Linked DNA regions of Homo sapiens: region 1 is linked to region 2. Evidence: promoter capture Hi-C in 16 types of primary human blood cells and fetal thymus (Javierre and others, 2016). All regions are on one chromosome and are shown on one strand. The core of a region is centred on a gene start or on the middle of the fragment in contact, and the rest is flanking DNA. Distances in the headings are between cores, read along the strand shown.

The links. The method cuts DNA at HindIII sites, captures the fragments that hold promoters and counts their contacts. A CHiCAGO score of 5 or more calls a contact.
Region 1: a contact is called between the fragment with the promoter of OSGIN2 here and a fragment that was not itself captured in region 2, in 1 of 17 cell types (non-activated CD4 T cells). The highest score is 7.5, in non-activated CD4 T cells.

What each region holds. Positions count from the first base shown.
Region 1 is chr8:89,898,794-89,906,124 of GRCh38, reverse strand. It overlaps OSGIN2 (oxidative stress induced growth inhibitor family member 2), which reads right to left and starts at 3,555. Exons shown (of 6, transcript NM_001126111.3): 1 at 3,288-3,555. The coding sequence starts at 3,331. LOC124901974 (a long non-coding RNA gene) reads left to right here and starts at 3,719. Exons shown (of 2, transcript XR_007061001.1): 1 at 3,719-4,106; 2 at 6,669-7,331. It also overlaps the pseudogene RNU6-925P. RefSeq lists silencers at 1,931-1,990, 2,984-3,433, 3,464-3,803, 3,553-3,851 and enhancers at 4,145-4,910, 4,911-5,676. The HindIII fragment of the contact is 4,461 bases long and covers 2,084-6,544 here.
Region 2 is chr8:86,518,783-86,526,140 of GRCh38, reverse strand. All of the region lies in intron 2 of CPNE3 (copine 3), which reads right to left. Among named protein-coding and RNA genes, the nearest start is that of CPNE3, 8.0 kb to the right of the region's middle. RefSeq lists enhancers at 2,684-2,733, 2,754-2,853. The HindIII fragment of the contact is 2,787 bases long and covers 349-3,135 here.

The DNA of each region.
Region 1 (7,331 bases), core at 2,306-4,805, 3.4 Mb before region 2:
AGAAACCTGAACTTGCATCCCTGTACTTAAAAGAAAAAACAGAATATTAAGTTTTTCAATCCATGAATATAGAATTCCTTTCCATTTATTTAGACCTTTAATTTCTCTCAACATTTTGTAGTTTTCAGTGCATAAGTATTGCATTTATTAAATTTATTCTTATGTATTTCATTTTTTGATGCTATTATATAAATGAAATACCTTTGTTAATTTCATTTTAAATTATTCAGTGTTAATGTACAGAAATACAATTCACTTTTGTATGTTGATTTTGCATCCTGCAACACCGTTGAATTTATATATTAGGTCTAGTAGTTTTTTGCATGTGCAGCCCTCAAGCAATGAAGAACCAAAGTTTAGTTTATCCAAATTCTCTACACATTAGCTTATCTAAATTTACATAGTATAGGTAATCTGCTCTGATTTTTCAGGAGCCACTGGTATAAACTCTGTGATAAACTATTTGTAGTAAACCTGCCTCCTATTTGATAGTGGTTTAACACAAAGAAAAACAAGGAAACAAAAACGGAAAGTGTGATTCACTGGTTTTACATAAAACATTAATGAAACAAGACTTTTAGTAATTATTCTTTCTAAAAAATTCAGAGCTTAAGTTATAAATTTAGTATTGCTGTACATGTTTTATAGTACATGCACAGTATATCACAGGTCTATGAACAGTGTTAATCTCTAGATTTCCAATTTGATATTTGTTCTATTTAAAACAAGAGCTTATTTTGAGTAATAAAAATCTACTTTTTCTTCGAGGCACAAATTAAAATTGGAAAATATGTACAATTACATTTAGCAACTAGTAAAGAACAGCACTTTACATGCAAAATTAGTTACTCTATTGTTAGGAAGCAAGTTAAAAGCCTATTTGACATTTAAGATGCTTTTAGAGGCCTTCCATTTTTTGTTTTTGAAACATTACAGCACAAAGTTTCAGAGAACATTTCAAAGGATAGTGTGGACATAGTATCAGGATAACAAAAAGACTTTTTCCATACCATAGCAGTACTTGTTTAAATGATCATTCAAACTAAAATGAAATGCTTTACTAACTGAATTTTTATAGTCTTTGGAACCATGAACCTAAAATTTACCAAATTTATACTACCACATGGAAAGAAGGTTCTAAAGCCACAAATGAAGTCAGTCACACTCTTCATCTTCCAGAACACGAAGGAAGAGGTTTTTTCCTTTGGAAAGTTAGTGGACAGTTCTCTCACTACTTATCCATTCAGATGTTAGACAATAGATGTCACAACCTGTTTTATAATCTGTGTTTTTTTGTGTGTTTTTTGTTTTTTTGAGACAGTCTCACTCTGTCGCCCAGCTGGAATGCAGTGGTGCGATCTCAGGTCACTGCAACGTGTCTCCTGGGTTCAAGCTATTCTCCTGCCTCAACCTCCCGAGTAGCTGGGATTACAGGTGCACACCACCCTGCCCGGCTAATTTTTGAGTTTTTAGTAGAGACGGGGTTTCACCATGTTGGCCAGGATGACCTGAACTGACCTGAAACTGCTCGAGAAATAGCACTGGTAAATCAGAAACATATTCCTGAAGGAGCTGGTAAACAACTAAAAAAAAAAATACTTTAGACACAACAGAACTGTTTTTGCAATAAAAAGTGTGGTTTATTAATCATAATGTTTATCTTTGGCAGCTAGCTTGTTTTTCTTTCTGTCCCTCCAGACCAAAACATAGCAAATACTTTGTTTTCACTCCCTACTCCAAATTTCTGTGCACGGCAGGAAGCAAATGGTATTCAACACCCAGTATTAGTCAAAAGAATATGAATCCTACACTGTGCATCAAAAGGTGTCAAATAGCTTTCACACAATATTTTCTGAAAGGCATGTTAGATTCTCATGGGCTTTATTTAGTTTAACAAGTTTCACTAGGGGAACCTATTTCCTAAAAGTTTCCATAGTGAATCTGATACCTTCAAACCGCTGTCTCAGTAGTCAACAAATTTGCCTAAAAGTTAAAATCAAGCAGTTTATTATATGAAACAATTTTTCCTTAATATCCACAACCTAGAGACTCATTCTAAACTCACTGAGAGGTTAGACAAGCTTGGATTATCGCTGTTACAAAAGAAGTTCCAAACTTTCTCTATGCCTTACATCTCTTTTACTATAGGATGACGCTTCTTAACCTCTTCTCTGAATACTGTTCTTAAATATACACAGGATTTACAAGAAAACTAATTCTATTAAAACAGTCATAAAAAGTAAACGCGATATATATATGTGCTTCTCTGTTGCATTCAATAAATTCAGTGATGTGTTACTATAATTTTGAATAAGTATAAACAGTATTTCTATATTAACTGCAATGTGATATAAACATATTTTATGATCTCTACTGATGACAGTCACAGATACTACTGTGATTTGTTGCTTATATTTTAACTGAATATTAGTTTTTAAAATTTAGTGAAATGATATACCTTTCTTTCCATCCAAGTTCATGGGTTACCTAAATTGTATGAAACCCACTATTTAGGAAGGCTTGATCAAAATTTCATATTTTACCAGGGAAGAAGTCTTACATAGAATTATTCTGGAACATCAGTATATGTAAAGCAAGGTACTAAAGTATTCCCTATGCTTAACCATTCTTCACCCCAGGGTTAAAATCAGTTTCTAGTGTCTGGTCTTTCCACCAATGACTGAGGTGTTGACCAAATGTGCTAGATCTAGAAAACATACTTTTATTTTAGAAATGTATTATATTTTATCACCCCTAAAACCTTTCCCCATAAGGTGATTGTAAAACCGCCTCATTCTTTAAATTTCTACAACACACACGTCTTACCATGGCTAACATCTTAACAAGGCAGAATCTATTTGTGATTAGATGACACTGAAATGTAGTTCCCTACCTTCCTTCCACTCATTACATTATTTAGAAGACTTTTTAAGAAATAATTTTTTTTTAGGGAGGCAGGCACTTCGTAGAACCCCCTTCACTAAAACTTTGCACTACTGGGAAGTCTCAGCTCGCCGTAACCGACTCAGTCCGGCCTAGCCGATCCCGCAGTCCCGTGACCCGCGCGGTCCAGAGCGAGAAAAGGGAACAGCGCAGGGCTCCCCGGAGCAAGGACCCCACCACACCGCACCCCACCCCACCCCCACGCCAGGCAGGACGGCCGAGGCGGGAGGACGCTGCGGTCCAGGCGCTCGCCCTCCACCCCGGTCCCGGCCCGGGCCAGGCCAAAAAGCTCGAGAGCGCGGCATCCCCGCCTGCTCCCCTCCCATCCCCGGCGAGGAAGTCACCTGAAATGACCGGCCAGGGAGCAGCGGCAGCACCACACGGGCATGGAGCGCTGCGCGAGGGGCGCCCGAGCGCGGCCGCCGTGGCCGCCTCCGCCTCCCCCGGCGAGGCTGCCCGCTCGGGGCGCCCGCTGGCTCGGGGTCGCGGGGTCTGCCGGGCGCCCCTGCCTCGCGCCTCGCCGTTGCCGCGGCTGCCCCGGCTCTGTGGCGCCGGAGTCCGCCTCCAGATAGCGGCTTCCGCTCCTCGCCTGCAGGGAGCCAGGCGCCGGAGGCGGGTGATCTCGGGGCGCCGCGATAGGGGCGGAGCGGGGCGGGGACGCTGCGACGGCGGCTGCAGCGGCGCGCGGGCCCCTCCTCGCAGGTGCGGCTGCGGCGGGCGAAGTCTGCGATTGGTGGAGCCACGGCCCGGGCGAGGGGCCGGGCCTGATGGAGCCGAGGCTGCGCGGGCAGGGGACCGAGGTCTGCAGGCAAACTGCGCGGCTCGACCGGCGGCAATCGAGACCTAGACCTCGGTCAGCGCCCCGCCGCCCCTCTGCGTGCGACTTGGTGAGGCCGGTGGGTGCGCGTCGAGAGGGCCGAGGGACGAGCGGAAGAGAAGCTGCTGCGAACTCGGGCCACCCAGATGGCCCGGCGGAGTTCCCTGCGTAAGGCGCGGCCTCGGCCACTTCGCCGAGGACCCCGGGAAGGGTCGAGCTTCCCACGCCTGAGAACCCACCTTTGGGCATTTCCTCGCGCTGCCGGGGTGCAGACGCCGGGAGCTTCCGGGTGCCTCTCCCGCTGACCCCCGCATCACAGTTACCTGGAGGACTCACCAAACCACAGGTGCCCGGGACCCGCCCACCACGCTTCTTTTATGGAAGTCCCGCTTCCGGGAAGAGGTCATCCTCCCCTCTTCATGTCTCTCAAACACCCACAAGTGTAGGAATTACCAGCACGCCGGGTGAAAATCCAGGTGCTCATCAGGCCCGCCCCAGACCACACCGGCCAGTGTGGGGAAGGGCAGGAACCCCTGCTGCTTTTTAAGCCCCTGCGGGCGTTTGTGATGCAATAGGGAGTTAGAAAAGTACTCAATAGTGAGTGTCGTTATTCGGTTTGTCAAAAATTAAAGGTGGGGAGGACAAAAATCAGGAGAGATTGATTGCATCTACTTTTCTACGGAAATGTCTAACTCCGCTTCCAAAAAAAGCCGTAATTATTTTTGTGCTTCAAATATACGTTTATGTTTATATCTTTCAACATAATTTTGTAAAACAAATGTTAAGTTTTACTGAATGTTGTCACTGAACAAACTTGTGATGAGCAGGTATTTTAGAGTCTTGGGGTCTTAAAAGAAAATCATAGGACTCAGACTGCCCCAGAGTTATGCAATCTAAGAGTATATTAACCACTTTTAAGTATTATATGTTTTTCTCTTTTTTGAGCTTTTGTCGATTTGACACGTTCATTTCATTTGAATGTTGGTTCTGAAAATGAAGCATGTAGTTACTTTTCCGTTAACATACATAACAGCATTTTAAAGTACCTAAATTCCTTTTGGAAGGCCGAGGCGGACGGATCACCTGAGGTCAGAAGTTCCAGACCAGCCTGACCAACATGGTGAAACCCGTTTCTACTAAAAATACAAAACCTAGCCCCGGGCGTGGTGGCACGCGCCTGTAATCCCAGCTACTCAAGAGCCTGATGCAGGAGAATCGCTTGAAACCGGGAGGCGGAGGTTGCAGTGAGCTGAGATCGCGCCACTGCACTCAGCCTGGGCCAAAGAGTGAGACTCCGTATCAAAAAATAATAATAAAGTACCTGGCCGGGCGCGGTGGCTCACGCTTGTTATCCCAGCACTTTGGGAGGCCGAGACGGGCAGATCACGAGGTCAGGAGATCGAGACCATGGTGAATGGCGTGAACCCGGGAGGCGGAGCTTGCAGTGAGCTAAGATCGCGCCACTGCACTCCAGCCTGGGCGACAGAGCGAGACTCCGTCTCAAAAATAAATAAATAAAGTACCTACATTCCTAAAAGCAGTGCTTAATTCTGCAGCACATATACTAAAATTAGAATAATATAAAGATTAGCATGGCCCCTTCCCAAGGATAACACGCAAATTCGTGAAGCGTTCCGTATTTTTAAATATATACACCTACTATGTAACCAAAAAAATTAAAAATAAACATATAAATTCCTGAAAGCTATGCCAGTCCAATCCAGATAATTCTTTTAATTTTTAATTTTTATTTTTTGTGAGTACATGGTATATATATTTATGGGGTACATGAGATTTTGATACAGGCATACAATAAGTAATAATCACATCAGGGTACATGGAGTATCCATCACCTCAAATATTTATCCTTTCTTTGTGCTACAAACAATCTAATTATACTTAGTTATTTTAAAATGTTCAATGAATTATCGTTGACTAGTCACTCTCGTGCTGTCAAATACTAGATCTAATTCTGTCTATACTTTTGTACCTATTAACCATCCCCACTCTGCCCCTTAATTCCCCACTACCCTGCCCAGCCTTGTAACCATCATTCTATTCTCTGTTAGTTCCGTTGTTTTAATTTTTAGCTCCCACAAATAAGTGAGAACATGCAGAGTTTGTCATTCTGTACCTGGCCTATTTCACTTAAAGTAGTGACATCAGTTGCATCCATTTTGTTGAAAATAACAGGATCTCATTCATTTTTATGGCTGAATGCTACTACGTTGTGTACATAAACCACATTTTCTTTATTTGTCTATTGATGGACACTTAGGTTGTTTCCAAATCTTGGCTGTTGTGAACAGTGCTGCAATAAACATGGGAGTGCAAGTATATCTTAGGATATACTGATTTCCTTTCTTTGGGGTATATACCTATCAGTGGCATTGCTGGATCATGTGGTAGCTCTATTTTTAGCTTTTTGAGGAATATCCAAACTATTCTCCGTAGTGGCTGTACTAATTTACATTCCCACCAACAGTGTACAAGGGTTCTCTTTTCTCCACATCCTCATCAGCATTTGTTATTGCCTGTCTTTTGGATATAGGCCATTTTAATTATGATGAAATGATATCTCATTGTAGTTTTGATTTGCATTTCTCTGATGATGAGTGATGTTGAGCACCTTTTCATATACTTATTTGTCATTTGTATGCCTTCTTTTGGTAAATGTCTATTCACATCTTTTGCCCATTTTAAATTTTTTTTTTTTTTGAGAGATAGGTTCTTGCTCTGTCATCCAGGCTGGAATGCAGTGGTTTGATCTAGCTCACTGAAGCTTCGAACTCCTGGGCTCAAGTAATCCCCCCACTTCAGCCTCCTGAGTAGCTGGGACTAGAGGTGTGCACCACCACACCTAGCTAAATTTTCTTTTAATTTTTTTTTCTTTTTTTTTTTTTTGTAGAGATGGGGTTTCTACAAAAAAACAGCCTGCCCATGTTGCCCAGGCTGGTCTTGAACTCCTGGCCTCAAGTGATCCTCCTGCCTTGGCCTCCCAAAGTGCTGGGATTACAGGTGGGAACCATGGTGCCTGGCCCTTTTGTCCTTTTTAAACTCAGATTATTATAATTTTTCCTATTAAGTTGTTCATGCTCCTTATATATACTGGTTATTAATCCCTTGTCAGATGGATAGTTTGCAAATATTTTATTCCCATTCTGTGGATTGTCTCTTTGTTGATTGTTTCCTTTGCGGTGCAGAAGCTTTTTATCTTGATGTGGTCACATTTATCCATATTTGCTTTGGATGCCTGTGCTTTCAGGGTATTACTCAGCAACTCTTTTGCCCAGCCCAATGTCCTGGAGAGCTTCCTCAATGTTTTCTTTTAGTAGTTTCATAGTTTCAGATCTTAGATTTAAGTCTTTAATCCGTTTTGATTTGATTTGTGTGTATGGTGAGAGATAGAGGTCTACTTTCATTCTTCTGCATATGGCTATCCAGTTTTCCCAGCACCATTCATTAAACAGACCGTCCTTTCTCCAATGTGTATTCTTGGCACCTTTGTCGAAAATGACTGCAGATATATGGAGTTGTTTCTGGGTTCTCTATTCTGTTCCATTGTTTTTTT
Region 2 (7,358 bases), core at 493-2,992:
TTCTCTGCCTCAGCCTCCCAAGTAGCTGGGATTTCAGGTGCCCGCCACCGCCCGGTTGAACCCTCCATCTGGCACTTGCTGTGTGACCACGTATAAGTAACTTCAACTTCCTGGGCCTAGATTTCCTCATCAGTAAAAATGGAGATAATGCAAGTAAATTTGTAAATCTGGCACGTGCCAGGCATACTGTTTTTTTGCATCTAATACAGAATCTGTAAAATAAATGTGAGTTGTATGATTTTTTTTTGCATAAGGTAGTTTAGAGTCTTGTAAGTTGTATGTCAGCAATATCAAGCATAATGCAGTGCCCTGTGGATGAACATAGAATGAGCAACAATAGCTAAAGCTTCCCCCAAAAAAACATGTAGAGGATTCTCTACCAGCCAGCAGAAAAGTCTTCAAATTTCCAAGGATGGGAAGAATTCAACAGAGAATGAAGACATCTACATGTGAAGTCAGTCTCACAGCAAAGAGACACCACATATCAGAAGAGCATTATTTTTTTCCCTAAAAATGCTTATACAAAAGCTACAAAAACAACATGCCAGGCACAGCTGATTATTTAACCAATTGCTGACAGTTATACTACTGCATTGCTGCCAGGAAACAAATTTCTTCTATTAGCAGCATTCCTCTCTGAAAAATGACTCTGTGCTGGTCTCAATGTTATCCTGAAACCCATTATGGCTGAATGGCAAATGGAAGAAATTACATAAACACTAGGGTCTGGAATCTTGTTAATGGTAATATTCATGAAGATACTGTTTTCATTTCCTTTTAATGTAATTATCCAGTACATGATATACAATTTTTTAAGAGAGCAATAGTATACTTTATCCACAAATCATAATGGGAGCTGGGCATATTGGCTCATACTTGTAATCCCAGCACTTTGGGAGGCTGAGGCAGTAGGATTGCTTGAGCCCAGGAGTTCAAGACCAGCCTGAGCAACAGAGACCTCATCTCTACAAAAACAAAAAATTTTAGGCTGGGCGCAGTGGCTCACACCTGTAATCCCAGCATTTCGGGAGGCCGAGGCAGGTGGATTATCCCAGGTCAGGAGTTTGAGACCAGCCTGGCCAACCTGGTGAAACCCCGTCTCTACTAAAAACACAAAAATTAGCCAGGCATGGTGGTACATGCCTGTAATCCCAGCTACTCAGGAGGCTGAGGCAGGAGAATCACTTGAACCTCAGAGGCGGAGGTTTCGGTCAGTGAGATCACGCCATTGCATTCCAACCTGGGCGACAGAGCAAGACTCCGTCTAAAAAAGAAAGAAAGAAAGAAAGAAAAATGAAAAAATTAGCCAGCCAAGGTGGCATGCACCTGTAGTCCCAGCTACTCAGTAGGCTAAGGCAGGAGGCTCACTCAAGTTCAGGAGTTCGAGGCCACAGTAAGCTATGCACTGCAGCCTGGGTGACAGAGCAAGACCCTGTCGCAAAAAAAAAAAAAAAAAAAATTATGATGAGGAAAAATAAAACAAACGTTTTATACTCTTTTAGTATGAAAGATTTGGCTGGGATAAGTCACCTGGCAAAGAATGCATGAGCAACTAAAGAAGAATTCTATGTAGTATTTTACTCCTTAAAGAGCAGGATAGAAAACACAAATAATCCCTAGGATTAGACAACAGCTTCCCTACTGTACAGATTATTACTTGTTGGACAAAATTTGATCCAAACACGTCTTCTGAAATGCAAATAATCCCTAGAAACACCAAATATATCAATAATTCTCCCAGTCACCCTAACGTTCTGAATCAATATTATAACAGAGATAAACATAAGGAGCTGAGAATTAAGACCTAATATTTAAAGTGGTACCTGATATGTGAAATTTAAGGCATCTGGTCATTCCCATGCCCTGGCTGAAAATCCTGAAGTCTTATCTACTTCCTCTTTTCCCATTCCTCCTTAAACCTACTCTTAGATTTATCCAGTAAAGATGTCATAGAGATTCTGCCTACTAGAACCCCAAATCTCTCCCAAACATGGAGATACAGCCGCTTTCCCATACCCAGAGTCACAACCCTAACTTCAGGTCTTCTGTATCTCTCACCTGCCTTATATAATAGTCTCCTAATGGGTATTCCCACTGCCATTTTCTCTCCATTCACATTATGGTTTTATCACTTCTGATTAAAAAGTGATAGTCCAATGAACTAAGCCTGGAATTCATGGCTCTGCCAACATCTACCCCTAATCTACCTGAACAGCTACCTCTGCCCACCCAAGTTCTTCAAGATCCACTTCAGGCCGGGCACGGTGGCTCACACCTGTAATCCCAGCACTTTGGGTGGGCGAGGTAGGGGGATCACTTGAGGTCAGGAGTTCAAGAACTCAGCCTGGCCAACATGGTGAAACCCTGTCTCTACTAAATATACAGAAATTAGCCAGGTGTGGTGGCAGGTGCCTGTAATCCCAGCTACTCGGGAGGCTGAGGCAGGAGAATCACTTGAACCAAGGAGGTGAAGGTTGCAGTGAGCCGAGATGGTACCACTGCACTCCAGCCTGGGCGACAGAGTGAGACTCTATCTCAAAACAAAACAAAACAAACACTTCAAATGATACTTCATTCATACAGCTGTTGCTGATACCCTGCTGATACCCCTCATGCTGTTATGGCACTGATTCTATTTTCTTTCCACTATTGTTACTTGTATTTGTGGCTCATCACTCCGTCTATATACTGTGAACTGTGGGCAGCGAACATATTTTACCACTTCCTCTTCTTCCTGAAGCATGACATCTGGCACAGGTTATTTGTAGCAGAAAGAGCAATAATGCTGGAGTCAGCGTGTGTCATTCAAATTTCTTTCCCATCACTAATTTGGATGTGTCACCTCTGCCAAATTGTCTATCTGAACTTCAATTTCCTAATTTATAAAATGGGGATATTAAAAAACCCTGACACTAGTCCTTCAATGTAAATAAGGCTAAGAGAGAAAAATAAACTTAATAAAAACCCTGACAACTGTAGGTCTGTAGCATGCTCAGCATATAATAGACACTCTATGAATTGTAGCAATTATTTTATTACTGAGTCAGGGATTTTAATTGATTGTCTCAGCATAGATGGCTTGTTATTAAGTAGTAAGACATAAAGCAGCTTTCTCATCCTTACTTATGAAAAGCTTCTTGAAACAATAATGATTTTTGGGATTTACATAAAATTAATTTGGTGAAATAGTCAGCCTTGAGTATAGATAAGGTACGCAGGTGAGGGGAGCGCAGGCTCATGTCAGTGACTCAAAATGTGTCCTAAAACAATTGTGAAGGAGAAGTCGGTGCCTATCTACAAATCCCTTTAGTAAAGTTCCTTCAGTCTTCAGCTGAAAAATGAAGAGACTGGCCTAATGTAAAAAATTCTCAGAAGTTCTTTCTGGTTCTAATACCATGATTCACTAACTGCTATTCTGCAGTACATCCTGCCTGACCGCTATTGAAAGCAAGCAAGGGCAACCCTGGGGCAGCTGGAACCGGCCCAGCAACATCAGCAAAACACACCCTAGGCAGTGTTTCTCAAATTGTGTTGCTCAGAATAGTAATAAGTGTTCCCCTACTAAAAAAAAAAAAAAAAAAAAAAAAAAAAAGCAGCGGGCGTCAGGTAATATGGCTGTAAATCCAAAGGCTGCTATGCTCCTCAGAGTTCCCAGGTCAGACTAGCAAATGTATTTATTACCAGGTTACTGTAAACCCATTATTTTGCTAAGGACAGCAGGGACATTATACAGCAACAGAAGCGCTTGTAGCTCATTATAATCAAATTGGGGAGACCCATTCATAAAACAATTACTTACTGAATACTTTCTAGGTGTTCCAAAAGTGAGGGTTGGGGGAGGCAAAAACGAAATAAATACTTAGCTACTTAGCTAACTATGTATACATAGAAATAGTATACAAGAGTATAAAATTGTGTGGTACAGACAGGGAACAATCAAAGTGCTCTTGGAGCTGAAGAAGCTCCCCAGAGATTTCTACTTTTACTGACGATTAAAACTATACTCCACTACAAAAAGAATTTGCAGTATTATTGCTACTGACTACCAGATTTCTTTTTCACCCTTACATTCAAGGGTAGACAGTAAGAAAGTGGGGAGTAGAAGAATAAGGGGAAAGAAAAGATAGTTAATAATTCCATACAACTGGACAGATTTTGTTTTTTTTTACAATTTTCAAAGTGCTTCCAAATAATATATTATCTTCTGAACCTTACAAAAACTCTGTGAGTTAGGCAGGATAATGATTACTACATGGTGGAAGGTCCATATGTCACAGGTATGACTATAATATAAGGCACTCCAGTGTCTGAATTGATTGACCCAGAATATGTTGATAATTTTCAGCACATTGTTAATCTTCAAAATAATGCATAGTATATATTAGGAAAAAAATATAAATTTCTTCAAAAAGGTTAAATTACTTACATGGGATCACAAAGCTAGTAAGTGTCACCACCACAGCATAAACCCAGGTATTTTCCCCTTTATGCCAAAATCCCTTCAGAGCACTAAAGCCTCTAATTAATAGTTAATTAGCTGTCAAGTAAAAATAGTATTAGTAAAAATAAATAAACTCCATAGATGTAAACAATTATGATTTTTCAATTAAAAACAATATCAAAAAATAGTTACTTAGTATAACAGCAATATTCTCTATTAATTTCCTTAAGTCTTGTTAATATCAAAAGTAATATTCAGCCTGACACAAATTAATAAAATAGGAACTTTAAAATTACAAGGTTAATACTGAGGCTAAAACTAGTTATATGGTTCTTAAACAAACGTAACCAGAATAACAAAAGCTTGCCAAAGAATGGAAGAACTGGAATGGTTTATATTTTATTTACCTCATAGCAGTTCCTCTTCAAGATAACCCATTAAATTGTAAATTACTTAAGGCTAAGAAAGCAAGTTCTCCTTGCTAGTGTGTCTCTACACACACAGGTCTGCCATGTGTGTAGGTGCCATTAGATCGTCTTAGAGCAGCAACATTTATTCTCAGGAATATACTGCACTTAATATCCAGACTCTGAGAGTAAAAAACTCACATTAAAAGAATTTAAACTACGCTTGTTCTGTATTTAGTAACAAAGTGATGCCCAGATGTATTTTTTTAATCACTACCACAGGATACCAGAAATGAAGATAGGGAATAATGTCAAGCATAAATATACATAAAACAAAACAAAAAAGAAACAAAAAGGAAGAATCACTGGATCAGGTGTCAAAAGAAATGGACTGGGCAGATCACCTGAGGTCAGGAGTTTGAGACCAGCCTGGTCAACATGGCAAAACCCTGTGTCTACTAAAAACACAAAAATTAGTTGGGCATGGTGCACTGTAGTCCCAGCTACCTGGAAGGCTGAGGCAGGAGAATCACTTGAACCCAGAGGTAGAGGTTGCAGTGAGCCAAGATTGCGCCACTGCACTCCAGCCTGGGTGACAAAGCAAGACTCCGTCTCAAAAAAAAAAAAAAAGAAATGCCTGGTTCTGTGTTAGTCACACCACAATGGCAGGCATTTGGGCAACTGCTGTAACTTCTCCAGGCTTCAGGTTTTTTCAGCTGTTAAATCTTTTTTTTTTTTGAGATGGACTTTCACTCTTGTCGCCCATGCTGGAGTGCAATGGAGATCTTGGCTCACTTGCAACCTCCGCCTCCTGGGTTCAAGTGATTCTCCTGCCTCAGCCTCCTGAGTTGCTGGGATTACAGGCGCTGCCATCACGCCCAGCTAATTTTTGTATTTTTAGTAGAGACGGGGTTTCACCATGTTGACCAGGCTGGTCTCGAACTCCTGACTTCAGGTAATCCGCCTGTAATCTGCCCACCTTGGCCTCCCAAAATGCTGAGATTACAGGCGTGAGCCACTGCGCCCAGCCTTCAGCTGTTAAACCTAAGAGTTGAGTCAATCCCTTTCTTTAAGTAATTCTTAAGGTCTTTTCCATTAATGTACTATAACCCTAATTTAATTACAGTGAATATGGAACTTGTTTAGGAAGTGGTACTAAAGGATTTTTTAAAATGAATAGAAAACATTAGAATATTTATAAGTACAAAAAGGAGAAATGGAAGAAAAAGGATAAAGTTTTCCAAACTCAGTCTCCATCTCTATCAAAAAAGCTATATCTGGGGCCAGGTGCGGTGGCTCACGCCTGTAATCCCAGCACTTTGGGAGGCTGAGGCGGGCGGATGGTCTGAGGTCAGTAGTTCAAGACCATCCTGGCCAACATGGTGAAACCCATCTCTACTAAAAATACAAAATTAGCTGGGCATGATGGCGCCCACCTGTAATCCCAGCTACATGGGAGGCTGAGGCAGGAGAATCGCTTGAACCAGGGAGGCGGAGGTTGCAGTGAGCCAAGATCGTGCCATTGCACTCCAGCCTGGGCAAAAAGAGCCAAATTCCATTTCAAAACAAAACAAAAAAAGCTATATCTGAAAAAAATGTATCTAGAAACTTCTCCACTAGTTAGGTACCTTTGCTCAAAATTGTTATTAAGTGCTCAGATGACTTAAATAAACAAACAAACCACAGGGCCCAGTCTATTAAGTAGATGCAGCACAATAAGGAAATAAATTTTATTAGCATCCATGAAATCTCACATTATTAAGCTCTTAGCATCTATCATGGCAGCAAAATAAATCAGCTTTTAGCCACACTTCAAAAAGTTTCCAGATTCTTAAACTATCTTGAGCAGGATCTAAATAGTGATACCATTGCTGATGCTTGGACATGCAGAACGGAGGAAAGCAGGAATTAACAGGTGTGATCACTCTAACTTCAAAAATAAAAAGTAGGTGCAGTTTTACCTTCTCTTTATCATTACAAAGTAAGCAATCAACTAAAGACCCTTCATTAATTTCTCTAAAATCCTGGTATTGTTCTATTCCATGATTCATAACTGGCTACAAAGTTTACTTAACATATGTTTCAGGTTTTACCACTTTTCTAATCCCTTGGCTACTGTATATACATTTTGGAAGTATCACTGATTGTATTTTCAAGTCCATCAATTCAACAGTTCATCATAGGTTCATTTAGTGAGGTATTAATAAAAGTTATTAATAGAAGCAGGGTTGGGCCAGGCACGGTGGCTGATGCTTATAATCCCAGTACTTTGGGAGGCTGAGGCAGGCAGATGGCTGGAGCTCAACAGCAGCCTGGACAACATGGCTAAACCCCATCTCTACCAAAAATACAAAAATTAGCCAGGTGTGGTGGGGTGTGCCTGTGGTCCCAGTCATTCTGGAGGCTGAGGTGGGATTGCTTGAGCCTGGGAGGTGGAGGTTGCAGTGAGCCGAGATCATGCCACTGCACTCCAACCTGGGTGGCAGAGTGAGGTCCCATCTCACAAATAA